Linked DNA regions of Homo sapiens: regions 1 and 3 are each linked to region 2. Evidence: promoter capture Hi-C in human tissues and cell types (Jung and others, 2019). All regions are on one chromosome and are shown on one strand. Each heading gives the region's core, a stretch centred on a gene start or on the middle of the fragment in contact. The rest is flanking DNA. Distances are from core to core; before and after follow the strand shown.

Region 1 (2,700 bases), core at 188-2,687, 1.1 Mb before region 2:
GTTATGTATGTTCTCACAAGACTGATTATCGCCAGAAGAGATCTCTGTAGCTACTTAGTCCGGATTTTTTTTTTTTTCCCTCACCATGGGATAGGAAAGGAAGCTCTATTAACAGCCTGACTTCCAAATAGAGACTAAATGTAAAGAAAGATTATCTCTTTGGATGACTGATGGAGCAAAGAAAACCAGAGACCTTGAGATCTGAACAAATGGTCATTGCAACTCCATGTCATTGATCAAGTCAAGAAAGGTATCCAGCCATTACCATGTGAAAGAAAATGAAGCACAGCCTGTCCACACGTGGTTAGCAGTAGCAACCTGGTAGTTTCTCTCCTCAGAAGGTTTTAAAAGCTAGACAACAAAGAAAAATCAAATGAAAAAATTTTAAGGCTGCTGTCATAGTACTTTAAAAAAAAAAACATGAAATCTGTAGAAATAAGTAAAATGAAAGATGTATGAGACTTCTACACTGAAAACTATAAAACATTATTTAGGGAAATTAAGTAAAGCTGAAGAGATAAATAAAGAGTAGTCCCCTGCTTAAGGGCAGAGGACACATTCTAAGACCCTCAGTGGATTCCTGAAAGCTTGGGTAGTACTGAGCCCTGTATATGCTATATTTTTACTTGTGAATATATACCCATGGTAAAGTTTAATACTGTAATGGAAGTTATGAGAATGTGGTCTCTCTCTCTCTCTCTCAAAATATCTTATTGTCTATAATATTTTCGGAGTGTGGGTAACTGAAACTCTGGAAAGTGAAACTTTGAGTAAGTCGGGGTGGGGTCTTACCATGCTCAGATCTCTTCAGTCTCTGTGCCTTGTTCAGAGATTGGGAGACTCAATATTGTAAAGTCATCAGTTCCCTCAAGATTGATTTATAGATTTAGAGCAAACCCACTTACAGTCCCCAGCCAGATTTTTGTTTCCGTTTTGCCACTTGAGAAGCTGATTACAGCCACTGTTTATATGGTTAATGCAAAGAGATAAGAAAAGCTGAGACAATTTTTAAGAACAAAAAGGCCAGAGGACTCACATGACCAGTTATCCAGACTCACCACAAAGCTGTAGTGTGGTGTTAGCACAAGGATAGGCAGATAAACCCGTGGAACAAAAGAGAGGGTTCAGAAGCAGTCTAACACATATATTGTCACCTGATTTATGACAGAGGTAATCTTTTCAATAAATGGCATTATGTCAACTGGATATCCACATGGAAAAAAATGAATCTTGGCCTCTGCTATCACCCTACATAAGAAATAATTCCAAAAGGATTATAGATCTAAATGTGAAGGGTTGAACCAGAGAGCTTTTAGAAGAAAACAGGAGAACATTTTTATGATCTTGGGATAGCCAAAGATTTCTTAAACAGGCCACAAAACATACTAACCATAAAGGAAACAAGTGATAAGTTGGATTTCATTAAAACAAAAAATTCTTTTTATCAAAAGATACCACAATGATTGAAAGACAAGTCACAGAATGAAAATCTGTATTTGCAGGGCATATATTAATATTTGACATAGGAAATGTATCTTGGATATATGAAGAATCCCTATAAGTCAAGAAAAAGGCAAGCAACCTGTTAGAAAAACATAGGCAAAAGACTTGAATTTCACAAGAGGATATTCAATGGTTGATGAATGTAAGAAAAGGTGTTCAACTTCACTAGTCATCAAGTAAATGCAAAGTCAAGTCACAATGTCATTATACTACAAGAATGGCTAAAATTAAAATGACAGACATGTCAAGTGTTGCTAGGATGTGGAGCAGCTATAGTTCTCATATACTACTGCTGGGACTGTAAATTGTACAATCTCTTTGGAAAACCATATTTGCTGAAATGGAAAACTGTATTTGCTGAAATGGAACTATACAAAAGGCACGTACAAGAATGTTTATAGCAGTGCTGTTTTTTTTTTTTTTTTTTGAGACGGAGTCTCACTCTGTCTCCCAGGCTGGGGTGCAGTGGCGCGATCTCGGCTCACTGCAAGCCCCACCTCCCGGGTTCCCACCATTCTCCTGCCTCAGCCTCCCGAGTTGCTGGGACTACAGGCGCCCGTCACTGCACCTGGCTAATTTTTTTTGTATTTTTTTAGTAGAAACGGGGTTTCACTGTGTTAGCCAGGATGGTCTCGATCTCCTGACCTCATGAACCGCCCGCCTTAGCCTCCCAAAGTGCTGGGATTACAGGCGTGAGCCACTGCGCCCGGCCTAGCAGTGCTATTTTTTGTTTTGTTTTGTTTTTTAGAGACAGGGTCTTGCTACGTTGCCCAGGCTGGAGTAGAGTGGCTATTCACTGATGGAATCATAGTACACTGTAACCTCAAGGTCCTGGGCTCACGCGATTCTCCCACCTCAGTCTCCAGAGTAGTTGAGACTACAGGCGTCTCTGTTTACAGTGCTTTTCTTAGTAGTCTCACCTGGAAATAATCCAATGAACATCTATAGTATAATGAATAAATACATGATGGCATATTCATACAATGATGTCACACAGCAAATGAGAATTAACAATCTACAACTGTACACCACACTATGGATGGATCTCAGACATCATGTCAGACAGAAGAGTTTACACAGTTCATGCTATATGATGCCACTCCTATAAAGGTGAGACTTACAGTGTTATAAATCACGAAAGCGGTTCCCTTTGGGGGAAGTAGTGACTAGAAGGGTATATGACAGGGCTCCTGGGGT
Region 2 (2,700 bases), core at 156-2,655:
CCAGGGAAAGAACAAGAGAGACTGTGACGACGGCTTGCACTCACGGATCTCTGTCCATGGTGAAGTGGCCGAGTGCACTGGCCTGACTGTCCTCCCCACCAGCTTCAAGGTGTCCATTAAGCCAGGGCCATGACTGATCGGACAGAAGAGGGGTCATCCTGTGTCATCCTATGGGGTCACACACATGCTGGGCTGTGCCTTGGACCCAGTAACTTACTTTTTCAGAAGAAAACTGGTTTCTTGGGGACCTCCTGAGAGGACTGGGAGGGAATCCTCCAAAATGATTTCCAGTTCCCCGAACTTCATTCCTCCATTATTCTTGATGACTTTTTCTTTTTCTTTGAGACAGTCTCACTCTGTCATCCAGGCTGGAGTGCAGTGGTGCAATCTTGGCTCACTCACTGCAACCTCCACCTTCTGGATTCAAGCAATTCTTGTGCCTCAGCCTCCCGAGTAGCTGAGACTACAGGCTTGCACCACCTTGCCCAGCTAATTTTTGTATTTTTAGTAGCAACAGGGTTTCACCATGTTGGCAAGGCTGGTCTCGAACTCCTGGCCTCAAGCAGTCTGCCCGCCTCAACCTCCCAAAGTGCTGAGATTACAGGCATGAGCCACCATACCCAGTGGATGACTTTTTCTCTAATCACAAAAGAAACATACATTCAGGGTGAAAATGCAAACATCACAGAAATATAAAACTTAGAAAGTCTCTCCAGAGATAACTGCTATTAACAGTCTGATGTGTTTTCTTCCAGCTTTTCCTCTATGAATATGATCATGTATTATTATCTTCATAAATAGAATTGTATTACACAGGCTGTTCTGAAAGTTGCTTCCATTTATCATGATGCCGGGGACTTCTTTCCATATCTGTGTGCATTCCTGCTTCACTGGTCTTACTCGCCTCGTTCTTTATGCCAGTGGTGCTGGGTCTTTGGAGTTCTAAGCGCCTTTGGGTGTTCCATGAATGACAAATGCACACAGGCAGATCCCACAAATATATGACTCTGAGTGTCATAGACTTCCCGAGGCTGATCTACTACTGACCCCTTCACCCTGTGCATGGTGTGAGGATAGGGGTGTGGGGGGAAGATGGGGATCACAGAAATGGGTCCAGGAGGGTGGGAAGGACAGTGTGGGTGACTTTCCTATTGATAGGGAGACCCATGCCTGGGGAGCCTCAGTCAAAGGGGTCCTGGGTCACTGCCTCCACTGTGAGACCCTCTGACTCTCCTGAGCACCCACCCCTGGGCTCCTCCTCAAGCTGGGGGTTCCTCTCCTGGCATCCTCAGCAAGATCACCTGACTCCAGCAGCTGCCAACCCCCTGGGCAACGCCAAAGCCTCCTGGCCTCAAACGGGTTGGGCGACATTCACTTCCTCGCGCTGTCCTCCCGACCTGCTCTGTCATTAGGAATTGCCTCGGCGGTGGCGGTCACACTAACAGCAACAGGAGGAGATCGTGCTGCTGCTCAGCACCTCGGGGTGGCTCAGATCTGCTGGAGGCCCCAGGAGGGAAGGTGGATGCTGCTCTCTCCGGTCCCAGCTAAAGTGAGTCTAGGGGCCTGGATGGGCGTGGGGAAGGAGCTTGGCAATGTTGGAAGGTTGCCAACATTGGAAGGATGCAGGAGAATGAGAGAGAGAGAAATTGAGAGAGAGAGAGAAAGAGATACCTGTGGGTGAGCAACTAGTCACAGCTAAAGCTATAGGACCTTGCACTGGGGCTCCAGGAGGGAATCCCAGGTGCCTGGAAGTATCATTCTGTCCCACTGGCTCCTGTGCTGAGGTGGGGATGGGGGGTGTTTTCTCTGGGGTGGGGACACCTGCCCCCACACTCTGTTCCGGAGATGGGCTACTGCTGTGGGGGAGGCTCAGTACTGGGGCTTCCCAAGGTCAGCTCCCTTGGGCCAGCCATTGCCTTCCCCCTGCCTCCCAGGTGGCCAGAGGGGCATCCTTGTTTAGGGTCACTCTAAACCTAAAGAGGAAGGAACTTTGGGTAGTCACTTTTCTAACAGTGCTATTTCTTCTATTCCTTTGACCAAAGTCTGAAGACAAAGTCTTAAGCTCTGAGCCTCAGGTCCCTTATCTGTAAAATGAAGATAATCCCTACGCCCCAGCCTTGTTGTCAGGATCAGAAGAGGAAGGGATGCAAAATGCCAAGCATATAATTAGGATTCAATAAATGGTCGCTGTTGTAAATAATAATAATTATTTATTATTAGCTCAATACTGGTCCCACTTCACCTAGGAATACTTTCCAGCCCTCCTCTCCCCTCAGTTTCCTAAGGCACCAACAGGGATGCTTTGGCACTTACTGCATTCTTCTTCAACTCGTTTGTGCTCAAACTAGAGTATGTTCCTTGCATTTCTTCTGTTGCCCTCTCCCTCACCCCAGCATCCAAACAGAATCATACCATAAGAGGAACTCAAGGATGGGGAATGGAATGGGATTCAGAAAGCGAGAGAGGCAGAGGGAGGGGTCAGGGAAAGACTGAGAAAGGGAGGCAAGAAGGTGGGGAAGGAGGTAGCATCGTCCAGGTGTTGACGGCGTGGCTCTCCGGAAGCACGGGACGGGGGAAGGATTGCCCAGAGAGGCCATCGTTGGAAGCGGGAAGGACTGTCCAGAGAGGCCATCATTGGAAGGGGGAAGGATTGTCCGGAGAGGCCATCGTTGTAAGAGGGAAGGATTGCCCAGAGAGGCC
Region 3 (2,700 bases), core at 49-2,548, 1.1 Mb before region 2:
AAATAGTCTTCCAAAGGCTTTAAAGTTCTAAACTAAAAGTGAAATTAATATAGCTTTTGTGATATACAGATTTATTTAAAATTTTTTAGTGCCTTCTGTGTAAAAAAATGCAATAATTGGTATTATGATAGTAGTTAACATCTTCCAAGTACGACATTAGACAGTTTGCACACATTTTACACATTGTTTCATCCCACCAGAATGCAAACAGCACCGATAACAAGAATCTATGCTTTGTATGGGTGGAGATTTTGGTCCATTTGTCTATATTCTATTTTTTCTTCATGCCCATTAATGAGAGCAATGCCGACTATATAATAACTACGAAGTAAATGTTTTTGGAATGAAAAATTATTGAATCCTCCAGCTACTTTCTGTTCATATGTTGCCAGTAGGTGATATGCTATTAGCTGTTCACTCCATATTGTGGGACAGCGTGTGTACAGCGAAGGGTGATTTTCAGTTTCTGCCTTCTGTCTAGTGGATATGCACCTTATCTATATAAAAGGTTAAATAATAGGGTAGCAATTGTTTCTGGATGATATGGGAGATGTGAACAAGGCTAGAAGAATTATAAATAATGGAGATATGAGTGAATATATATAAATCACCTGGAGCCGTGTCTGTACAGGGCAAATGCTTACTGCATGTTAACTGTTGTTATTGCTATTGTAACATCATTGTCATCATTTTGTTTTTTGTTTGTTTTTGTTTTGTTTTTGAGATGGAGCCTCACTTTGTTGCCCAGGTTGGAGTGCAGTGGCGCAATCTTGGCTCACTGCAACATCCGCCTCCTGAGTTCAAGCAATTCTTCCTGCCTCAGCCTCCCAAGTAGCTGGGATTACAGGCGCCCGCCACCATGCCTAGCTAATTTTTGTGTTTTTAGTAGAGACAGGGTTTTACCATGTTGGCCGGGCTGGTCTGGAACTCCTGACCTCAGGTGATCCACCTGCGTTGGCCTCCCAAAGTGCTGGGATTACAGGTGTGAGCCACCGCACCCAGCCTATCATTTTGTTTTAATTGACATATAATAATTATACATATTTATGGGGTACATAGTGATGTTTTCATACATGTAATATATAATGAGCCAGTCAGGATAATTAGCACATTCATAATCTCAAACATTTTTCATTTCTTTGTGTTGGGAACATTCTATATCGTCCTTCTAGCTACTGGAGACTTTATTGTTAACTGTAGTCATCCTACAGTGGTGAATAGAACACTCAAACTTATTCCTCCTGTCCAACTATAATTGTGTGTCCCTTAACAAATCTCTTGCTCTCCCCCTTCTCCCTACTCTCCCCAGTTTCTGGTGTGCTCTGTTCTACTTTTTACTTCTATGAGATCAACTTTTGTTTTTAGCTTCTGCGTATGAGTAAGAACATGCAGTGTTTAGCTTTCTGTTCCTGGCTTATTTTACTTAATATAATAACGTCCTCCAGCTCCATCCATGTTGCTGTGAATGGCAGGATTTTATTCTTTTTTATGGCTAAATTGTATTCCGTTGTGTATGTATACCACACTTTCTTTATCCATTCATCTGTTGTTGGATAGGTTGATTCCATATTTTGCCTACTGTGAATAGTGCTGCAGTAAACATGTGGGTGTGGATATCTCTTCAAAATACTGATTTTCTTTCCTTTGGATAAGTGCCCAGTAGGGGGATTGCTGGATCATATGGTAGCTCTAGTTATAGTTTTTTGGGGAACCCCCATACTGCTCTCCATAGTGGCTGTACTAGTTTACATTTCCACCATCTGTGTATAAGAGTTCCTGTTTCACAACATCCTCACAAGCATTTATTTTGTGTTTTTGATGATAGCCATTCTAAGTGGAATGAGATGATACCTCATTGTGATTTGGATTTGCAGTTCCCTGACGATTAGTAATGCTGAGCAATTTGTATATATTTGTTGGCGCATTTGTGTGTCATTTTTTGAGAAATGTCTGGTCAGATCATTTGTCTGTCTTTCACATATTTTGTGTATCTTTTTTTTTTTTTTTTTTTTTGGAAATAGAGTCTCACTATGTTATCCAGGCTTAAGTAATCCTCCCACCTCAGCCTGAGTAGCTGGGACTATAGGTGCATGCCACCATGCCTAGCTCATTTGCCCATTTTTCCATCCAATTATTATTATGATTTTTGCCATTGAGATATTTTGAGTTCCTTACATATTTTGCATATTAATCCTCTGTTGGATAAACAGTTTGCAAATATTTTCTCCTATAGATTGTCTTTTCACTCTATTGACTGTTTCCTTTGCTGTGCAGAAGCTTTTTAGTTTGTTGTAATCTCATTCGTTTCTTTTTGCTTTTGTTGCCTGTGCTTGTGAGGTCTGACTCATAAAATCTTTTCCCAGATCAACATCCTGAAGTGTTTTCCTTGTTTTTGCCTGGTACTTTTATGGTTTTGGGTTTTACATTTAGGTCTTTGAATCATTTTGAGTTGATTTTTTCCTTAGGGTGATAGATGGGTGTCCAGGTTCATTCTTATGCATGTGCATATTCAGTTTCCCAACACCATTTATTGAAGAGACTGTCTTCCCCCAGTGAGTATTCTTGGCACCTCTGTTAAAAATGAGTAGGCTTGGCTGGGTTCACATCTGTGATCCCAGCATTTTGGGAGGCTGAGGTGGGCAGATTGGAGTTTGAGGCCAGCCTGGGCAACATGGTGAAACCCCGTCTCTACAAAAATTA

The links. The method cuts DNA at HindIII sites, captures the fragments that hold promoters and counts their contacts. A contact is called where the count stands out against the background at its distance.
Region 1: a contact is called between a fragment that was not itself captured here and the fragment with the promoter of RNF222 in region 2, in 1 of the 25 tissues and cell types used here (lymphoblastoid cells).
Region 3: a contact is called between a fragment that was not itself captured here and the fragment with the promoter of RNF222 in region 2, in 1 of the 25 tissues and cell types used here (lymphoblastoid cells).

The regions. Positions count from the first base shown.
Region 1 is chr17:9,529,541-9,532,240 of GRCh38, reverse strand. All of the region lies in intron 4 of STX8 (syntaxin 8), which reads left to right. Among named protein-coding and RNA genes, the nearest start is that of STX8, 45 kb to the left of the region's middle. The HindIII fragment of the contact is 7,559 bases long and covers 1-2,700 here.
Region 2 is chr17:8,396,532-8,399,231 of GRCh38, reverse strand. RNF222 (ring finger protein 222) reads left to right here and starts at 1,405. Exons shown (of 3, transcript NM_001146684.3): 1 at 1,405-1,537. The HindIII fragment of the contact is 8,302 bases long and covers 1-2,700 here.
Region 3 is chr17:9,512,627-9,515,326 of GRCh38, reverse strand. All of the region lies in intron 4 of STX8 (syntaxin 8), which reads left to right. Among named protein-coding and RNA genes, the nearest start is that of STX8, 62 kb to the left of the region's middle. The HindIII fragment of the contact is 3,350 bases long and covers 1-2,700 here.